Regions from separate parts of the Homo sapiens genome. Here region 1 is linked to region 2. The links are contacts of gene promoters, found by promoter capture Hi-C in human tissues and cell types (Jung and others, 2019). All regions are on one chromosome and are shown on one strand. Each heading gives the region's core, a stretch centred on a gene start or on the middle of the fragment in contact. The rest is flanking DNA. Distances are from core to core; before and after follow the strand shown. Region 1 overlaps SF3B1 (splicing factor 3b subunit 1). Region 2 holds the start of MARS2 (methionyl-tRNA synthetase 2, mitochondrial).

Region 1 (4,635 bases), core at 693-3,192, 300 kb before region 2:
AAGTCAATAAACTATCAACATTTGAATTGCAACTTTTGTTCACTTTCCTTTTACTTAGCAATGTCATATATGACTATGTATAAATATAAACTTACAGCTGCCTAGGGAAAGAGAAAGCCCCAGATTCTGACCAGACTCAGAATCGTTTTTAACTTTTATTAACAATTTTTGATTATGTATAGAAATGAAAGAAATCAGTGAAGTGATTTAAAGGATGATGGATACTCAATAACAAAAAAGTTTTGTTTGATTCTGAAATATATTTGTGCACTGACATTTAAATATGGGGACAGCTTATGTTCCGGCCATACACAACAATATAAGCCAGAGGTAAACATGTAAATAAAGCAAAAATTTCCAGAAAGGGCCCCCTTACCCTTTAACTGCAAAACAAACAGATCTCCAGTCTCCCTGCAATGCAGGGCATACTTGGATGGTATTTACACCTACGAAGAGAGAAAAAAGGAGGCAGCTGGCAGGGGCTCTTGCTCTAACTAGAATCACTTGCTCTGATTCTCTCTCCATTGCTCTTCCCATGCCTCTCTGACAAACAATATGGTTTAAAACTCCCTGCAAACCAGAGCCCTACAAGTGGCCATGTAAATGATTTCTGGCAAGTAGCTATCTTCAAGTATAGAGGATAGGGTTGCATTGGAGATTATATGCAAATACAATAGTTTAAACATGTGTATCGCATAAATACCTCTTACAAAATGAGGAAAAACAAACAGTGGCTCTCTCACAGTCAGCTATTTTGACTTCTGCTAGGTTATCAGAGCCTCTAAACTCTGCAGGAGTTACATTTGGCAACAGTTATAATCAATTTAAAAAAAAGATTAAATATAAGAAACCATTTGTTTTCTTCATACTGCCCTAATGGAATAAAAACTTTGCTCTCCATATCCAAGACCATTTGTAATATAGCTGTATTACGGGTTAGAAAACTGAATGGACAGTATTTAAAACTTGGGTATGTAAATAAAGACAATAATTTGATCAGTTCACTTTTCTCTGATTATATTCCTTGAAACTGATCACAAGCAAAAAACCTGTCATAATCGCTAATTCAAGGTTTAAATATATATATATTGTTCTAAAACTAAATTAAAACTTTAGGATTGCCTTTTCACCCCGCAGCAGAACATGGCAGAATATATTTCACCTGACACACTATTTCTACTAGGGTCCTGTATTCCATGACTTCAAAGCTTTTTGAGCTGTGACTACTCCCACCTCTCATGTAGGTCCTAAACTTACCCTTTTTTTCTCTTTAAAGTAAAATATAAATGGGTTTTGGGAAACAAGACTTTTGTGACATCCCCCGACTTAACTACAATCTTGAAGTGCTTTTAAAAAGCTAACAAAAACCTCCCAACTCCTAAATAAGATTTTACTTACGAAAAAAAAAAGAAAAAGAAAGTTAAAACAAGAAAAAGTCTTATGTAACCAGCAAATTCCATACCTATGACATTTACAATGGCCTTCAGTGCTCCAAGAATGCTGCCCAATACTTCAGGGTACTCTTCACCCAAATACTCATACAATACAACACCCAAGTGTCCCATCAATTTTTCCTATAATAAAACAAATAATGTTAAAATGTTACTATTTACATTAAACTATTTGGGGAAGAAGTAAGAATTTGATGCAAAAGTTTACCTCTTGACAAGTCTTCATGACAACAGCAGTTCGAGAAATCAAGTCAGCTGCCTGTTGCCTAACTTTAGCAGATTTGTTATTTAAACGCCACAAAACTGTACCACAGATCTGAGGCAAGTATGGTTTGACTCGTTTGCCAAGAGCATTAACCACTGTGCCAAAGCCGTTCAACATTACTGAGTCCTAAAAAATAAATTTAAAAAAAAGACATATTCATTTGGTTTATGACTGCACAGTTGAAATACACTAAGAGTCAACCTTTTCTAACCACCCAAACATCTGTTGCTGTTTTTTTACATCAAATCTTAAAACTTGAGGTAGAATAATATCGTTTGGTAACCCCCTGAGCATTTTAAAAATTACTTCAAATTCAATTGCATTCTAGAAAAATTTGCTTGACAACTAATATGCTTTTCTACAAATATTAAAGTTAGTAGCAATGTGCCATAATAGTTTTCATTACCTCTGTAGTCTGTTCTTGGAAAGCATAAAGAATACCATCAATCAGTTGTTCTTCAAGTTTATGATCAATATCTGCTGCTCCCAAATTACCCATAATTTTCTCAATTGTCTCCATCACCATTTTTCTGTACTGTTCGGCTTCATCTTTCAGATCATCCACAATCCTGGATATAATTTCTGCTGCACCTACTTTGTTTGCCAACTCCACAGTAGTATCAACTAACTAAAAAGAACAGAAAAACAAAAAACCTTTTAGACTGCTTTTCCAAGGAAATAAAGCAACATCATGAAAACCAAATACTCTAAATATACTACTTATTTAGCTAATAAACATGGTAAGAATGATTCATTGCTACTTATTAAAGTTGAAGAGAAAAGTGACCAAACATCGAAAAATGAGTATAAGTTAACATGATTCAAGGTAAAACTGTGTCCATGTTTCATCTAGCCAGATAAAGCACTGAATGTACCAGACAAAAACATCAATTCACAGTTAAGTATTAATCCTCGAATCCAAAATCAAAATGGAAGTTAACTGGCTGACTAAAATCCATCTCCTTTCATAATCAAGCACATATAAACTGTGAGATAATCAAGGCAAAAAATAATATACAACATGCATTCAAGTTGACTAAAGAATGAGTTGAAAGGACTTTTGAGAATATTCTTTTACAATAAAAGCTTACCTGTCGGTAATTTCTTCTATCCAAAGCCATCCTGTGCTGCCAGAAGTGTTTAAAAAAGGGAGGAAGAATCTCTGTTTTAATGTAGTTTGCTTCTACACCATCTGTCCCACAACACTGTTTTACCACCTAAAAGGTTAAGAAATAGTAATAATAAATCAACTGACCTGAAATGAAGAGAATACTCATTGCTGATTACGTGATTTTAAAAAATAAAATTTAAAAACAAATCAAACAGTATTCGTGTAACATACAGTTTTTTTTGTTGATTTTTAAAAACACTTTAAAATTCTGTTAGAACCATGAAACATATCCAGTTTACATTAACAAATCTGGAATAATTACCTTCAGCACAATTTTTTTCATTTCCTCATCAGGAGACTGGAATTCTCGAATAAGGATTAACATCACTTCTCTAGTATAGTAGTTGGCATATTCTGCATCCATAAGAGGAATAAGATACCCAATAGCCTTCAAGAAAGCAGCCAAACCCTATTTTTAAATAAAAAATATATGTACTTTAGTAATTTAGATTTATGTCGCCTTAACTTTAATGAAGATAAATCAAAAGGTAATTGGTGGATTTACCTTTCCTCTGTGTTGGCGGATACCCTTCCATAAAGGCTTTAACACAGAATCAAAAGATTCGATACCATAAGGAGTTGCTGCTTCAGCCAAGGCAGCAATGGCCAAAGCACTGATGGTCCGAACTTTCTGCTGCTCATCCACAAGACCTACAAAACCAAACACAGGTTTTAACTATGCCCCAACATTACCTAAGTTACACAATATCATCCAGATTCTCTCAATATATCAACTATTCAGCCAAACTGCAGAATATGTTCACATTAAACAAAATTAGGTAAAAGCAAAACATGAACCATAGCCTGTCAGCAGATAATATAACAAACCCATCATAAAATCTATAGTTTGTAGAGCTATGCCTTTCCATTTATCTCCCCAAATCAGTAGCCCAAATTTTAGGACAGCTGTCCTATTAAACATGGACAGGCTGTGTGTGTACCTCTAGTCCCAACTACTAAGGAGGCTGAGCAGGAGGATCACTTGAGCCCAAAGGTTTGAGTCCAGTCTGGGCAACATAGTAAGACCCTGTCTCCTAAAGAAAAAAAAAAAAAGACAAAGTTACATTACAACTTACCATGTTCAATGATTTCAACTAAACTTCTAAGATGTGGCAAGATGGCACAGCCCATAAGAATAGCTATCTGTTGTACAATCTTAATACCAGTGTGTCTCGCTTGCCAGGACTTCTTGCTTTTGCACACAGCTTTTAAGAAGGGCAATAAAGAAGGAATGCCCAGGGCAGAGGCTACAACAGCAAAAGCTCTAGCTGTTGTGTTACGGACATACTCATCCATGTTATCTATATCAGGTCTCATGGTAGAGATCATAGTAGCCAGACCAGCAGCCTAAAATGTAAACAAAGAAAGGACAGTCATGAGTTGGTAATATTAATCTTCAACCATTTCTTTCCATAATCAATTCCATAAACAGATATAAATTTTCTTCTCTAGAAATTAAATGTAAATACCTTTGCCAAATTAGAAATGATCTCTCGGCCTTCCACTCTAGCATAGTAATCTTCATCAATCAATAGCGGTTCAATGACCACGAGGATCTGAAAAAGAGAAAAGAGAAGAAGCTACACTTTCACATCAATTACTGATGAAATGCTCATGTACAGAATTAAACATACATAAGAAATTTAGAATTATCAGGACTTTTGTTAATCAAGGGACGAACTGTTTAAGAATTTTAATTATACAAGTTCAAACTCCAGACAGAGATGAAAATTTAAGAGAGCTATTAG
Region 2 (4,945 bases), core at 2,281-4,780:
GTTTATCCATTCATCAGATGATGGACATTTGGGCTGTTTCCACCTTTTGTCTATTGTGAATACTGCTGTTATAAATAAATATTAGTGAGATAATACTTTACATCTATTTGACTGACAAAAATTAAGACAGACAATACCAAATACTGGAGAGATCTATTCAAGGGTATATTGCTGAGTAGAGTGTAAATTTGTTTAACCATTGGAAAATAACTTGGCATTATTTTGAAAAATGGAAAACTCATACTCTCTATGATCCAGCAATTTCATTCCCATGTATATATCCAAGAGAAACTTCAGCATATAGGCACCAGGAGACATATACGACAGTGTTAATAGTAGTATTGTTTCTAAGAGTGAAAACTTGAATCACTGAAGTGTGTATCAATGGCCATTTCTTTAAGGAGTTCTGCTCTAAAGGGAAGGAAAGAAATGGTGCAGTAATGGAGGTTGAGAATTTTTTTTTTAAATGGGAGAAAAAATAGCACACTTGTATGCTGAGGCAGTACTTCAATGGAAAAGGAAAAAAAAATAGTAAGAATTTCTGGATAACCTGGTTTCTCAGACACTTAGCTTCCATTTATCTGCCAGTTCTGGAGGGTGCCGTATATACCTTCCAGTTTTAAGTTTTACCTATGTTCACTTGCCATTTTAAAAAAAACTTGTATTAGGTTCAGGGTACATGTGCCTGTTTGTTATATAGGTAAATTGTGTGTCACGGCAGTTTGGTGTACAGATTATTTCTCCACCTAGGTAAAAAGCATAGTACCCGATAGATGGTTTTTCAGTCCTCACTCTCCTCCCTTCCTCCACCCTCAAGTAGGCCCCAGAGTCTGCTGTTTCCTTTTTTGTGTCCATATGTACTCAATGTTTTGCTCCCACTTGTGAGAACATATGATAGTTGGCTTTCTGTTCCTATGTTGGTTAACTTAGGATAATGGCATCCAGCTCCACCCATGTTGCTGTAAAGAACATGATCTTGTTCTTTTTTATGGTTGCATAGTATTCCATGGTGTATATGTACCACATTTTCTTTATTCAGTCTACTGTTGATGGGCATTTAGGGAAGATTCCATGTCTTTGCTATTGTGAACAGTGCTGCAATAAACATGGGAGTGCGTTTTTTTTTTACAGTAGAATGATTTATATTCCTTTGGATATATACTCAATAATGAGATTGCTAAGTCAAATCATAATTATGCTTTGTGTTCTTTGAGAAATCACCAAACTGCTTTCTATAATGGCTGAAGTAATTTACATTCCCACCAGCAGTGTATGTGTTGCTTTTCTCTGCAACCTTGCCAGCATCTGTTGTTTTTTGACTTTTTAATAATATTCATTCTGACTGGTGTGAGATGGTATCTAAATGTGGTTTTGATTTGCATTTCTGTAATGACGAGTGATGTTAAGCATTTTTTATATGCTTGTTGGCCGCATGTCTATCTTCTTTTGAGAAGTGTCTGTTTATGTCCTTTGCCTTTTTAATGAGGTTTTTTGCTTATTGATTTTTAAAATTCCTTATAGATTCTGGATATTAGACCTTTCTTGGATTCATAGTTTGAAAATATTTTCTCCCATTCTGTAGATTGTCTGCTTACTCTGTTGATAGTTTATTTTGTGGTGCGGAAACTCTTTAATTAGGTCCCATTTGTCAATTTTTGTTTTTGTTGCAATTGCTTTTGGCATCCTCATGATGAAATCTTTGTCAGGTCCTATGTCCAGAATGGTATTTCCCAGGTTACCTTCTAAGGTTTTTAGTTTTAGGTTTTACATTTAAGTCTTTAATCCATTTTGAGTTGAGTTTTGTATATGGTATAGGAAGGGGGTCCTGTTTCATCTGTATATGGCTAGCTAGTTATCCAAGCACCATTTATTGAATAGGGAGTCTTTTGCCCATTGCTTGTTTTTATCAACTTTGTTGAAGACCAGATGGTTGTAGGTCATTCTTAAACTGCTGGATTAAATAAGAGCACATCAACTGAGTATCCAAAGTTATTTTTTATATCTCTTATACAGAATTCGATTGGTCCACCTTTCATCATATCACTAGAGAAATCAGATCCAAGTTACCATATGTGTTCAGTCAAAGGTTATTATACAGCAGTCAAAATGAATGAATTACATGCAACATGTATTAAGAACATATGAATGCAGTTACATGCAACAACATGGATTAATATAGCAACAAAATGTTGAATAAAAAGGCAAGTTGAAGACTACATGTAGTATTATATCCTTTTTAGAATATTTAAATGCAAGCAAAATTAAACAATGTTACTTAGACATACTTTGTATGTGATCACACAAATGTGCAAGAACAAAATTCAGGACAATGACTACCTCAGGGAGGACAGTACGAGAAGAAAAGGAGCACACAGATCTAAATCACTGGTAATTTTCTAGTTCAGTGTTTCTCAAACTTTAATGTGCATCAGAATCACCTTAAAATCTAAATTACTGGGCCCTACCCTCAGAGTTTTCTGGTTCAGTATGTGGGGGATGGGGCCTAAGAATATACATATCGAACGAAGTTCCAGGTGCTGCCAGTTCTGCTGCTCTGGGGACCACACTCTGAAACCACTTGTAGTTCTTAGATTGGGTTGTAGGTTCATAGCTGCTCCATTTTATTATTAAATGTATATGCTACTTAAATTAAATTAAAAAAAAAAGATCAAAGATGAGAGTGTGTTATGAACTAGGGATTAACATTAATTCAATTCTGGGCTCCTGAGGTTTCCTCCCCTAAAAAAAATTCTAAGGTTCCATTACTAAAAGCAAACTTGAGAAACACTATTTTAAAAGAACTTCAAGACCATTAAAAAAATTAACTTTTTGAGAAATAAATTTGAAAATTATTCTTTATATGCACAGTGACAGCATATTGCACTCTACTTTCCTGGATCTCAATAAACTTTGGCAAGAACTTGGCAGATCACAAATCTACTTTTGTTGATTCAACAAAAACTGTTTAAAGACTTCTCTTCCATTCTCAGTTCTTATCCTTCTCTCAAAATGCTGTAGGTAATGATTTTTCATCTTTTTTCTCTCTCCCTCCCTTACAGATTGATTTAGGCTCTGAGATAAAATTTAGGTGACATTTTAGATATCGACAGGGCATGTGCAGAGCAATACTCTGTCTTGCAGTATGCCAGCCACGGACGGGGTTTAGACAAACGGCTGAATATAAAACTCTTGCCTACAAGCAGCTCAGCCTAGAGGGGGAAACAGATTCATAAATATAAAATTACAATCCAAAGCAGGAAACACAGTATGTTATACGAAGGCAAAGAGGTTCGTCTTCTTTCATAGCCTCTCCTAAACCCGGCAACTCTGAGCTGTTTTTCTGGCAAGCCGCCGTCCATTGGCGGCCTCTGGCGCCGCGGCTTTCGGCGTGCGGACGGCGCAGGCGCGGGCGGGGCGGGGCCGGGCGGGGAGGGCGGTGAGGGCCGGCGCTCGGGGCCGCGTTTCATTGGCTTTCCGGCCGGAAGCTGCGGCGCGACCCGGCTGCGCATGCGCCTCTCACACGTGCTGTCAGAACGCCGCCTCCTCCGCTTGCGGCCGGTCTGCACCATGCTGCGAACGTCCGTCCTCCGCCTGCTAGGACGCACGGGGGCTAGTAGGCTGTCTCTCCTGGAGGACTTCGGCCCACGCTACTACAGTTCGGGCTCCCTCAGTGCCGGCGATGATGCTTGTGATGTGCGCGCCTACTTCACTACACCCATTTTCTACGTGAACGCGGCGCCGCACATCGGGCACCTGTACTCGGCACTACTGGCGGACGCCCTATGCCGCCACCGTCGCCTCCGAGGTCCCAGCACGGCCGCCACGCGATTCTCCACTGGTACCGACGAGCACGGGCTGAAGATTCAGCAGGCAGCAGCTACCGCGGGCCTGGCCCCGACCGAGCTGTGCGACCGAGTCTCTGAGCAGTTCCAGCAGCTTTTCCAGGAGGCCGGTATCTCCTGCACAGATTTCATCCGCACCACGGAGGCCCGGCACCGGGTGGCTGTGCAGCACTTCTGGGGGGTGCTTAAGTCCCGCGGTCTGCTCTACAAGGGCGTCTATGAAGGTTGGTATTGCGCTTCCGACGAGTGCTTCCTGCCTGAGGCCAAGGTCACCCAGCAGCCGGGCCCATCGGGGGATTCGTTTCCTGTATCTCTCGAGAGCGGGCATCCAGTCTCCTGGACCAAGGAAGAAAACTACATTTTCAGGCTTTCCCAGTTCCGGAAGCCACTCCAGCGGTGGCTGCGGGGCAACCCTCAGGCGATCACCCCCGAACCATTTCATCACGTAGTTCTTCAGTGGCTGGACGAGGAGCTGCCCGACCTGTCCGTGTCTCGCAGAAGTAGCCACTTGCACTGGGGCATTCCGGTGCCCGGGGATGATTCGCAGACCATCTATGTATGGCTGGATGCCCTGGTCAACTACCTCACTGTAATTGGCTACCCAAATGCTGAGTTCAAATCTTGGTGGCCGGCCACCTCTCATATCATAGGTAAGGACATTCTCAAATTCCATGCCATCTATTGGCCTGCCTTCCTGTTAGGGGCCGGCATGAGCCCGCCACAGCGCATCTGTGTCCATTCCCACTGGACAGTCTGTGGCCAAAAGATGTCCAAGAGCTTGGGCAACGTGGTGGATCCTAGGACTTGCCTTAACCGCTATACCGTGGATGGCTTCCGCTACTTTCTCCTTCGGCAGGGCGTCCCCAACTGGGACTGTGACTACTATGATGAAAAGGTGGTTAAGTTGCTGAACTCCGAGCTGGCAGATGCCTTGGGAGGTCTCTTGAACCGATGCACTGCCAAAAGAATAAATCCTTCTGAGACCTACCCAGCCTTCTGCACTACCTGCTTCCCTAGTGAGCCAGGGTTGGTGGGGCCGTCAGTTCGTGCTCAGGCAGAGGATTATGCTCTGGTGAGCGCAGTGGCCACTTTGCCAAAGCAGG

Evidence for each region. Contacts are between HindIII fragments. The study calls those that stand out against the background at their distance.
Region 1: a contact is called between a fragment that was not itself captured here and the fragment with the promoter of MARS2 in region 2, in 2 of the 25 tissues and cell types used here (H1 embryonic stem cells and aorta).

Annotation. Positions count from the first base shown.
Region 1 is chr2:197,398,593-197,403,227 of GRCh38, forward strand. It overlaps SF3B1 (splicing factor 3b subunit 1), which reads right to left. Exons shown (of 25, transcript NM_012433.4): 13 at 4,357-4,443; 14 at 3,964-4,234; 15 at 3,393-3,538; 16 at 3,150-3,296; 17 at 2,808-2,933; 18 at 2,123-2,344; 19 at 1,660-1,842; 20 at 1,463-1,574. Among named protein-coding and RNA genes, the nearest start is that of SF3B1, 34 kb to the right of the region's middle. The HindIII fragment of the contact is 4,421 bases long and covers 1-4,153 here.
Region 2 is chr2:197,701,839-197,706,783 of GRCh38, forward strand. It overlaps MARS2 (methionyl-tRNA synthetase 2, mitochondrial), which reads left to right and starts at 3,531. Exons shown (of 1, transcript NM_138395.4): 1 at 3,531-4,945. The coding sequence starts at 3,568. RefSeq lists a silencer at 3,345-3,584 and enhancers at 3,725-3,774, 3,815-3,934. The HindIII fragment of the contact is 12,008 bases long and covers 1-4,945 here.